2 separate regions of the Homo sapiens genome follow, and region 1 is linked to region 2. Evidence: promoter capture Hi-C in human tissues and cell types (Jung and others, 2019). All regions are on one chromosome and are shown on one strand. The core of a region is centred on a gene start or on the middle of the fragment in contact, and the rest is flanking DNA. Distances in the headings are between cores, read along the strand shown.

Region 1 (4,799 bases), core at 1,373-3,872, 150 kb after region 2:
CGCCTCGGCCTCCCAAAGTGCTGGGGTTACAGGCGTGAGCCACCACGGCCGGCCTCACACATACTGATTGATGTCTCATGTCTCCCTGAAGTGTATGAAAGCAAGCTGTGCCCGACCACCTTGGGCACACGCCCTCGGGTCCTCCTGAGGCTGTCACAGGCGCGTCTGTAAACTCGGCAAAATAAACTTTCCACATTGGCTGAGAGGTGTCTTGGAAGCTTTGGGCTCACACACTGGCTGCCTGTGTCAGTCCCCCAGCGAGGCACAGCCGTCCCCAGCTTGTCTATAACCCCAGATTTGTCCCGCCCACAGTATTCCCTAGGTGAAAAGATAGCCCAGAGCGTTCTGTGCTCTGCTAGGCTTGCACAGAGAGACCTGAGCTCGGGACTTCACTCGTGCCCTCCACCCATGCCCAGCGCAATTGTTTAGCCATGTAGTCCCTGAATACCTGCTTCACTCATTACAATCACGTTTCTAAATTTGTGGAATTTGTGATACAAAGAACAAGCCAATAAATCGCTTATGTATTTTAATGTAAATTGTTGGCGAGGAATTTAGCAACTGCCTCTTTTTTCCTTTAAAAATCCACTTGTTGGCCGGGCGCGGTGACTCACGCCTGTAATCCCAGCACTTCGGCAGGAGAGGCGGGCGGATCACGAGGTCAGGAAATTGAGACCCTCCTGGCTAACACAGTGAAACCCCGTCTCTACTAAAAATACAAAAAAATTAGCCGGGCGTGGTGGCGGGTGCCTGTAGTCCCAGCTACTCGGGAGGCTGAGGCAGGAGAATGGCGGGAACCCGGGAGGCGGAGCTTGCAGTGAGCCGAGATCGCGCCACTGCACTCCAGCCTGGGCGACAGAGCGAGACTCCGTCTCAAAAAAAAAAAAAAAAAAAAAAACCAAGAAACAAAAAACAAAAAACCCACTTGTGGGCAGGTGCGGATGGCTCATGCCTATAATTTCAGCTCTTTGGGAGGCCAAGGCAGGCCAGATCATTTGAGGTCATTTGAGGTCATTTGAGGTCAGGAGTTTGAGACCAGCCTGGCCAACATGGCTAAACCCCATCTCTACCAAAAAAAAAAAAAAAAAAAAAAAAAAAAAAATTAGCTGGGCGTGATGGCGTGCACATGTAATCCCAGGTACTCAGGAGGCTGAGGCAGGACAATCGCTTGAACCCGGGAGATGGAGGTTGCACTGAGCCAAGATGGCACCACTGCAGTCCAGCCTGGGCAATAGAGTTAGACTCTGTCTCAGAATTAAAAAAAAAAATCCCACTTGAGGCCAGGCACAATGGCTCACGCCTGTAATCCCAGCGCTTTGGGAGGCCGAGGCAGATGGGTTACTTGAGGCCAGGAGTTTGATGCCATTTTGGGTGCGGATGTGGAAAATCTGAGACAGGTTTTTTTTTTTGAGATGGAGGCTCGCTCTGTCGTCCAGGCTGGAGTGCGGTGGCGCGATCTCCGCTCACTGCAAGCTCTGCCTCCCGGGTTCAGGCCATTCTCCTGGCTCAGCCTCCCAAGTAGCTGGGACTACAGGCGCCTGCAACCATGCCCGGCTAATTTTTTGTATTTTTAGTAGAGACGGGGTTTCACCGTGTTAGCCAGGACGGTCTCGATCTCCTGACCTCGTGATCTGCCCGCCTGGGCCTCCCAAAGTGCTGGGATTACAGGTGTGAGCCACCGTGCCCGGCTGAGACAGGTCTCTTGTTAATTTAGAAAGTTTATTTTGCCAAGGTTGGGCAGGGACCTGTGACACCGCCTCAGGAAGTCCTGATTGAAAGATTCTCCCAGGGGCCTGAAAGCTTGAGGGAATGAGTAACTCCTCCTCCTCAGGCCCAGTCCCAACGCTCAAACTTGCACCAGCAGCAAGATAGCAGAGGCAGGAAAAGAGCTGGCTGGAAGACACATACTCTCTGAAGATCAAGGGGGAGGCCGTCCGCGTACTACATAGCAGTCACGTCAGGCTGGGACAATTCCTGTTTACAGAGAACTATAAAAGCCCTGCCCCCTCCTCACTTGGGGCTGATGCCATTCTAGGCCTCAGTCTGTCTGCATCCAGGTGCTTATTAAAACAGTGTGTTGCTCCACACCGCCTCGTGTTGTCTGTTGGCGCGCTCTCCGGGTTCCAACCAATGCAAGAGCCTTGGGGCTGGCCCTGAAACCTGCGAGGGGCTTCCGTCCACGTCCCCAGTGGACCTACCACCCCTCCATCTGGGAAAGCAGGCCACAGCAGCCGGACAAAGGAAGCTCCTCAGCCTCTAGTCGCCTCTCTGTGCATGCACATCGGTCACTGATCTCGCCTACTGGTAAGTTTCCTGGGAGCCCGGTTAACAGGGAAAAATCCGCACGGCCTCTCTTGGTTTCTCCAGCCCCAAAATCCAACATGGGTCCAAGAAGGCTATGGCATGGCCGGGCGTGGTGGTTCACGCCCGTAATCCCAGCACTTTGGGAGGCCAAGGCCGTTGGATTCACGAGATCAGGAGTTCGAGACCAGCCTGGTCAACATGGTGAAACTCCGTCTCTACTAAAAATACAAAAATTAGCTGGGCACAGTGGCAGGCCCCTGTAATCCCAGCTACTCGGGAGGCTGAGGCAGGAGGATCGCTTGAACCCGGGAGGTGGAGGTTGCAGTGAGCAGAGATCGCGCCACTGCACTCTAGCCTGGGTAACAGAGCAAGACTCTGTCTCAAAAAAAAAAAAAAATGCTAAGGTGTGTGCCAGGCACTCGCTGATCATCTGGTCTTAGGGGGACTCTAAGCCAGTTGATCCCATTCTGGGAATGAAAAAGGCAGCGGTGACAAACGCTCCTTTTATCGTCTCCCTCCGGCTGTCCAGGACGGTCTGCTTTTCCCGTTCTCCTGAGCCTACCCTCCATTATGGAAAATTCCCAGTCTTCCATTCCAAAGGACAGCCCTCTAGGCTGCCTCATGAAAAACCTGCAAACCTTAGACCTCAGGCGAGATATCCCTCTAAGCACCTTGTTCTTTTTTTGCAATTCAGTCTGGCCACAGTACAAATTGGACAGTGGGTCCAAATGGGCCACAAATGGAACATACGACTTTACAATTTTAACTGACTTAAGCAATTATTGCTGACGGCTGGAAAAATGGGGAGAAATTCCTTATATCCAGGCCTTGTTCACACTCAGATTACAACCTGGCCTCTGCTCTTGCTCACCTGTTCAAATCCTCCCCCTCCATTCTCGCCGCCCTGATCGCCGTTCTCCTCCCGACCCTAACTCTTTTTCCTTGTTGGATCCAGCCAACTGCTGTCCACCCCTTCCAGCCCCTGCCTCTTCCTCTCAACCGTCTTCTTTAACCCCCTAAGCCTCCTCTTTGTCTTCCCAGCCAGCACTGCCTCCAAGAGTATCCACTTCTTTTCCTACACCATCCTCTCCTCAGGACAATTCTTGCACTGCCTGTACCCATTCTCCTCCCCCACCGCTCTCTCCTGAGGCCTGTAAACCCACCCCGCCACCTTCCGCTCCTATCTATCCTCTGCTGCCTATTAACTCAACCCTCCTTCCCCCTTCAAACCCTCAGCAGGAACCACTTCCGGCTTTTCTTTCTTTCCCGCCTATACTCATTCAGGCATTGCTTTTGGCCCATGCCCCACCCTTACTTCAGCGTCTGTGCTAGAATGCCCCCTTCGGGAAGTAGCAGGAACTGAAGATCTTATTAGAGTTCATGTTCCCTTCTCCCTCACTGATCGCTCTTGAATTCACAAAAGACTCGGTTTATTTCCAGAATACCCTGCCTCTTATATTAGAGAGTTTCAGTACCTCACCCAGTCTTATGAACTAACTTGGCATGACCTCTACGTTATCCTCTCTTCCACGCTCACCCCAGAAGACTGGGACCGTATCTGGACCCTAGCTCAGGCACATGCTGATACAATTCATCACCAAGCTGCCGCCCAGCCTGCTGGCACAGAGGCAGTCCCCAGCCAGGACCCCCACTGGGATTATCAAGATGGGGCCTTTGGATGCTGCCATCGAGACCACATGATTGTGTGTCTCCTTGCAGGACTCAAAAAGTGTGCCCATAAAGCGGTAAACTATGAAAAACTTTTAGAAATCACCCAAGGTCCTGACGAAAACCCAGCCCTTTTTCCTCTCTTGTTTAATGGAAGCCATGAGAAAATATACCAACCTAGACCCAGCCAGCCCAGAAGGAACCACTATCTTAAGCCTTCGGTTCATCTCCCAACCCATCCCTGATATCCAGCTCAAGCTTCAGAAGCTTGACGATGGCCCTCAAACCCCACAACGAGACCTTCTCAATTTAGCCCTCAAAGCCTTTAATAATTGTGATGAAGAAAGTGAAAGGCAAAAACAGGCAGAGTTTCGAATGCTTGCCTCCGCCATCGGGAGGCCCTGCAGGCCCACGGGGCCGCAGCTCCACACGGGAGCCTCCTAGCAAGCCACCTGCACCTGGCGTCTGTTTCAAGTGTGGCAATGAAGGCCACCGGTCCAGGCAATGCCCAAACCCAGGTAAGCCCCCCAGGCCGTGCCCCCTCTGCAGAGGACCCCACTGGAAGTCGGACTGTGAGCGGCCCCTGCAAGGACCGCCTCCATCCCTTCCTGAGCCGGCCAAAACCTACTCGATCTCATCGGCCTTGCCGCTGAAGACTGACAGTGCCCTGGAACGGACACCCCGGCAACTACCATTGCCTCATCTGAGCCAAGGGTAACCCTGATAATGGCAGGTAGGCCAGTATGTTTTTAAAATTAATATCAAGTCAACCTACTCTGCTTTACCTAATTTTTCAGGACTCACCGAGTCCTCCCAGGTCTCTGTTG
Region 2 (4,728 bases), core at 1,035-3,534:
GAATCGCTTGAACCCGGGAGAGGGAGGTTGCAGTGAGCCGAAATCACACCACTGCACTCCAGCGTGGGGGGGAGGTTGCAGTGAGCTGAAATCACACCACTGCACTCCAGCGTGGGTGACAGAGAAAGATTCTGTCTCAAAAAGAAACAAAACAAAACAAAATAACAAGTTAGAGAAACCAGATAGACTGAGTGACAGATTCATACACACCTGCACACGTGTGTGTGTGTGTGTGTGTGTGTGTGTGTGTGTGGAGAGACAGAGAGGGAGCAAATGTAGTAAAAACTTAACATTTGAAATAACAATGAGTTTCTGATAATAGAAGCAAAAAAAATTAATATTTGGAAAATCTGGATGAGGGAATATGACATTCTGTATGGTTCTTGCCACTTTTCTAATCTAAAATTACGTTAAAATTTCTAAAAAATTAAAAAGTATTTGGGCTGTGTAACAAATTACTGCAAACTTGAGTGGTTTAAAACAACACACATTGGGCTGGGCGCGGTGGCTCACTCCTGTGAGCCTAGCACTTTTGGGAGGCCGAGGCGGATGGATCACCTGATGTTAGGGGTTCGAGACCAGCTTGGTCAACATGATGAAACCCCGTCTCTACTAAAAATACAAAAATTAGCCTGGCATGGTGGTGCGTGCCTGTAATCCCAGCTACTCGGGTGGCTGAGGCAGGAGAATCGCTTGAACCCGGGAGGCTGAGGCTGCAGTGAGCCAAGATCTCACCATTGCACTCCAGCCTGTGTGACACAGACTCTGTCTCAAACAACAACAACAAAAACAACACCGTTTATCATCTTTCTCTCCCGCAGGCTGGCTGAAGGCTCTGAGGGAGGCCCTGGCCACCTTTCCCAGCCCTGTGGAGGCCGCCAGCCATCCCTGCCATTTCTCGTCTGGTGGCAGCACATCTCATCTCTGCCGCCATCTCCACATGGCCTTTTTCTCTCCGCGTGTCTGTGTCCACGTCTCTCTTCTTATAAAGACTGGACAGGATTTTTTTTTTTTTTTTTTTTTTTTTTTTTTTTTCTGGAGACAGTCTCGCTCAGTCGCACAGGCTGGAGGACAGTGGCGCGATCCCGGCCTCCAATGCCACCTTCCAGAGCCTTCATGATGTAACTCCATCCCTGTCCCCTCCCCACATCGCCGGCTTTATTGTTCTTCGTGTCAGTTCCTGCCAGTGGACATTTAATTCTAATTCACGTCTCACTCCCTCCCCTACTGTGAGCCCCACGTGGCAGAGACCGCGGCGGAGCTGCGCGGGCCGGAGGAGGCTGCGGAGCATCGCTCTGACCTGAGCCGGGGACGCTGCGGAGGCGCAGCACGTTCCTCTGCCCAGAGCTGATGGGCACCGTCCGTGTCTTTCGCTGCAGGTCCGGGGGGAGACTCGGGGGCCTGGGATCCCCCATTTAGCCATAGGGCGGGGGGATCAGGTTCAGCCTCTGAAAGTCCAGAGCACGATGTTTGGGAAACGGCCCCGCCCGCGGCCTCCGGGACCTGGCGAAGGAGCCCCGCGGGGCGCCCCTGCTACCACCCTGCGCGGAGTCGGCCCCGTCCCCGAGAGCGCCCGGCAGCCCCTGGCCGTGGGCCGCACCGGAGCCGCGCAAGGCGACTGTTCTGCGCCTCGGCTCGGGGTTCGGACCCGGCTCTGGGCGCGGTCACGCGGGGCGCTGCGCACGGCGTCCGGCGGCCACAGAGCGCGGCCATCGAGTCCCGCCCCGGCGCGGCGCCCCCTCCCGGGCCCGCGACACACGCCCTCGGGGTCGGTCCTCGAGGACGCGCAGGGCCCCCCACCCACCAGGACGCACGTTTCAAGCTCATCAGTAAAGGTTCCTTAAATTCCCGAAGGGCAAGAAGTTAACCAAGTAAAACAGCATCGGAACACCAGGTAGAAGACACCACCGGGGTCCGCGGGTGGGGGTGGCTGGAACCCGGGGCGGGCGGGCTCAGGCGAAGAGGAAGGCGGGGGAGGGGGCGGCGACCCGGGTCTGCGGTTGAATCAACAGGGCGTGGGAATGGGGCGGGCGGACTGGGGTGGGGGCATGCCGGGGTCCCGGGGAGGGCGGGGGTCGGGCAGGCCGGAGGGTCCCAGGCTGCGGCGGGGTGGGGAAGGGGTGGGGGGGAGGGGCCCGGGCTGGGTGGGGTGGAGGAGGGGCTGGGGGGGCGGGTGCTCTGCCACGAGACATTGGCCGGCGCCGGCCTCCGCCCCCGCCTCTCCGCCAATCACCGCCCGCCTGCTCCCCTCGCCGTGGGTCCCCGCGAGGCCGCCACCCCGGGGTCGCCGTCTCCGCCTCGCCGCAGTCGGGGCAGCCGCTCGCCCCTCTTTTCCATGTATCCGTCCAGGTGAGATCCGGCCCCACCGAGACTCGCTCCCCTCTCTGGACAGAGGATCTCAACTGGGTCCCGGTTTCCCTCTCCGCGCCTCCGCCCAGAGTTGCATCATCTGCACCGAAAGGCGGCGAGACAGGGTCTCCCAAGACCCCCGCCCCACCGGCGCCCACGCCTGCGGTCTTGACCGCCCAGAAGATGGGGGCTGGCCGTGCACGTGGCCCCGGGCTCCCACCCCAGCCCCCGCGCCGGCGGAGTGGACCCCACTGGCGGCGAGTCCTGGAGCGTGGAGCAGGGACGCGGGGTGGGAATCCGGGGGAGATGCACGTTTCGGTGCCCAGCATTGAGTTCGCTGCATTGTGGATGGGAAATGGCTGTTTGCAAATCGCCCTTTTTGGCGGACCGTGTGGGGTGGCGGTAAACGCTGTCGTTGCGCGGGCGGCACGCGAGGTGGGTGCCCGCTGGGGGAGGGACGCGGGGCTCTGCCCAGGTTGCGTTCGGGGGATGGAGGTTTTCCTGGGACCTCACTTCCCTGAGCCCCAGGCGAGACCGCAGCTGAGCTGTAGGATGCAAGCGGGAGGCGGAGCGTGGGTGGGAGAGCGGAGCGCGAAATTCTCGGCTTCCCGAGGATCTTCTGGGCTTACTTGTCCCCAGCTTTGTCCCAAAGTGTCGCTTCCGGAGGCGGAGTGGCCGGCGGTTTCCGGGTCTCAGTAGGGTCTGGATCTCCCACCTGGAAACCTAGAGGAGTTTCCCGCTCTCCGTGCGCGTGGCCTTCCCCAGGCCCCTCCGGGAGTGCTGGCGCGCGAGTGCAGGGGTGCCCCGGGAACGTCGTGACCCCAAGGGGGTCTTGTGGTTTAAGGAGCGAACGGAACCGGCCAGGCGATGCCAGCTGAACCCGCCTTCCCGGGACGCACGTGCATCCGGCCGCCCGGCGCTGTTGTCTTGGGGAGCCCGCGGGTTCGGGTCTGGGTCGCCTGGCGAGCTTTCCGCCGAGCGCCTCTGAGTTCTACAGAGCCCCGACGGCTTGCGATCTGCGTTCCCGGCAGTCCCTTACCTTGCGAGAGAGGGCTCCAGGGCGAGGCGAGGGGCCAAAAGCAAGGCGCTGGGCCGCCTGCGTCTGCCGGGGCCTCGGGTCCACGGCTTTCTGGAAGATTCGGCGGCGGAGCATGCGCGCCCCAGGCCAGACAGGGCCTGTGCCAGACGGAGAGTCCCTTCCCGTAGGTGACTCCCGCGACCCGCGGAGGAAGGTGCTGCTCCGCTCACGGCGGCGGCTTCTTACAAGGTTGGGATAGAAAGAAAAGCGTGGGACACGAACCTCTGAAAGCGGGTGCATTTTTCTGGGGAAGAGAAGATCCAACGCCTTCGGATTTTCAGACAAGTCCGTGGTCCCAAGACCTTGAAAGCACCACCCTCCAGGGTCGTTTGAAGCCGCTTTGGCCCCCAGTCTGGTGAATTGCAAAGGTGGAGGGGAGGCTGGGAAGTCCAGGAGGCCAAGCTGAGGCCTGGGTAGGGCCTGTGCGCAGAGACCACCTGAACAGCATACTCCAAGGGCTTCCAAAGGCAGCCGGCTTCCGCAACTTTTTCTTTTTTAATAGGCTTTTTAAAAAAAAAGCAGTTTTAGGCCGGGCGGGGTGGCTCACTCCTATAATCCCAGCACTTTGAGAGGCTAGGCGGGCGAATCACCTGAGGTCAGGAGTTCGAGACCAGCCTGGCCAACATGGTGAAACTTCGTCTCTACTAAAAATACAAAAATTAGCCGGATGTGGTGGCGGGCGTCTGTAATCCTACTCAGGAGGCTGAGACAGGAGAACTGCTTGAACCCGGGAGGTGGAGGTTGCAGTGAGCCGAGATCGCACCACTGCTCCAGCCTGGGCAACAAGAGGGAGACTCCGTCTCGAAAATTTAAAAAAGAGCAGTTTTAGATTTAGAAAAATTGAAAAAATAGATAGAGTTCCCCCAGTTTCCCCTGTTATTAAGATCTTAAACTGATGTCGTATATTTGTTACTTTATTTATTTTCTTTTATTTTTATTTTTATTTTTATTTTTTGAGACGGAGTCTCGCTCTGTTGCCAGGCTGGAGTGCAGTGGCGCGATCTCGGCTCACTGACCTCCCCCTCCCGGGTTCAAGCGATTCTCCTGCCTCAGCTTCCCGAGTAGCTGGGACTACAGGTGTGCGCCACCATGCTTGGCTAATTTTTGTAGTTTTAGTAGAAACGGGGTTTCACCATGTTGGCCAGGATGGTCTCGATCTCTTGACCTCATGATCCGCCCGCCTCGGCCTCCCAAAGTGCTGGGATTACAGGCGTGAGCCACCGCGCCCGGCCTATTTGTTACAATTAATGAGCCAATTCCACGATCACATAACCATTGTTGACATTAACCAAAGTCCGCGC

The links. Contacts are between HindIII fragments. The study calls those that stand out against the background at their distance.
Region 1: a contact is called between a fragment that was not itself captured here and the fragment with the promoter of CBS in region 2, in 9 of the 25 tissues and cell types used here (H1 embryonic stem cells, IMR-90 fibroblasts, aorta and 6 more).

What each region holds. Positions count from the first base shown.
Region 1 is chr21:42,922,851-42,927,649 of GRCh38, reverse strand. It overlaps ERVH48-1 (endogenous retrovirus group 48 member 1, envelope), which reads left to right and starts at 2,020. Exons shown (of 2, transcript NM_001308491.2): 1 at 2,020-2,304. RefSeq lists enhancers at 842-1,363, 1,364-1,885. The HindIII fragment of the contact is 3,226 bases long and covers 1,010-4,235 here.
Region 2 is chr21:43,073,391-43,078,118 of GRCh38, reverse strand. CBS (cystathionine beta-synthase) reads left to right here and starts at 2,284. Exons shown (of 17, transcript NM_000071.3): 1 at 2,284-2,349. The HindIII fragment of the contact is 35,360 bases long and covers 1-4,728 here.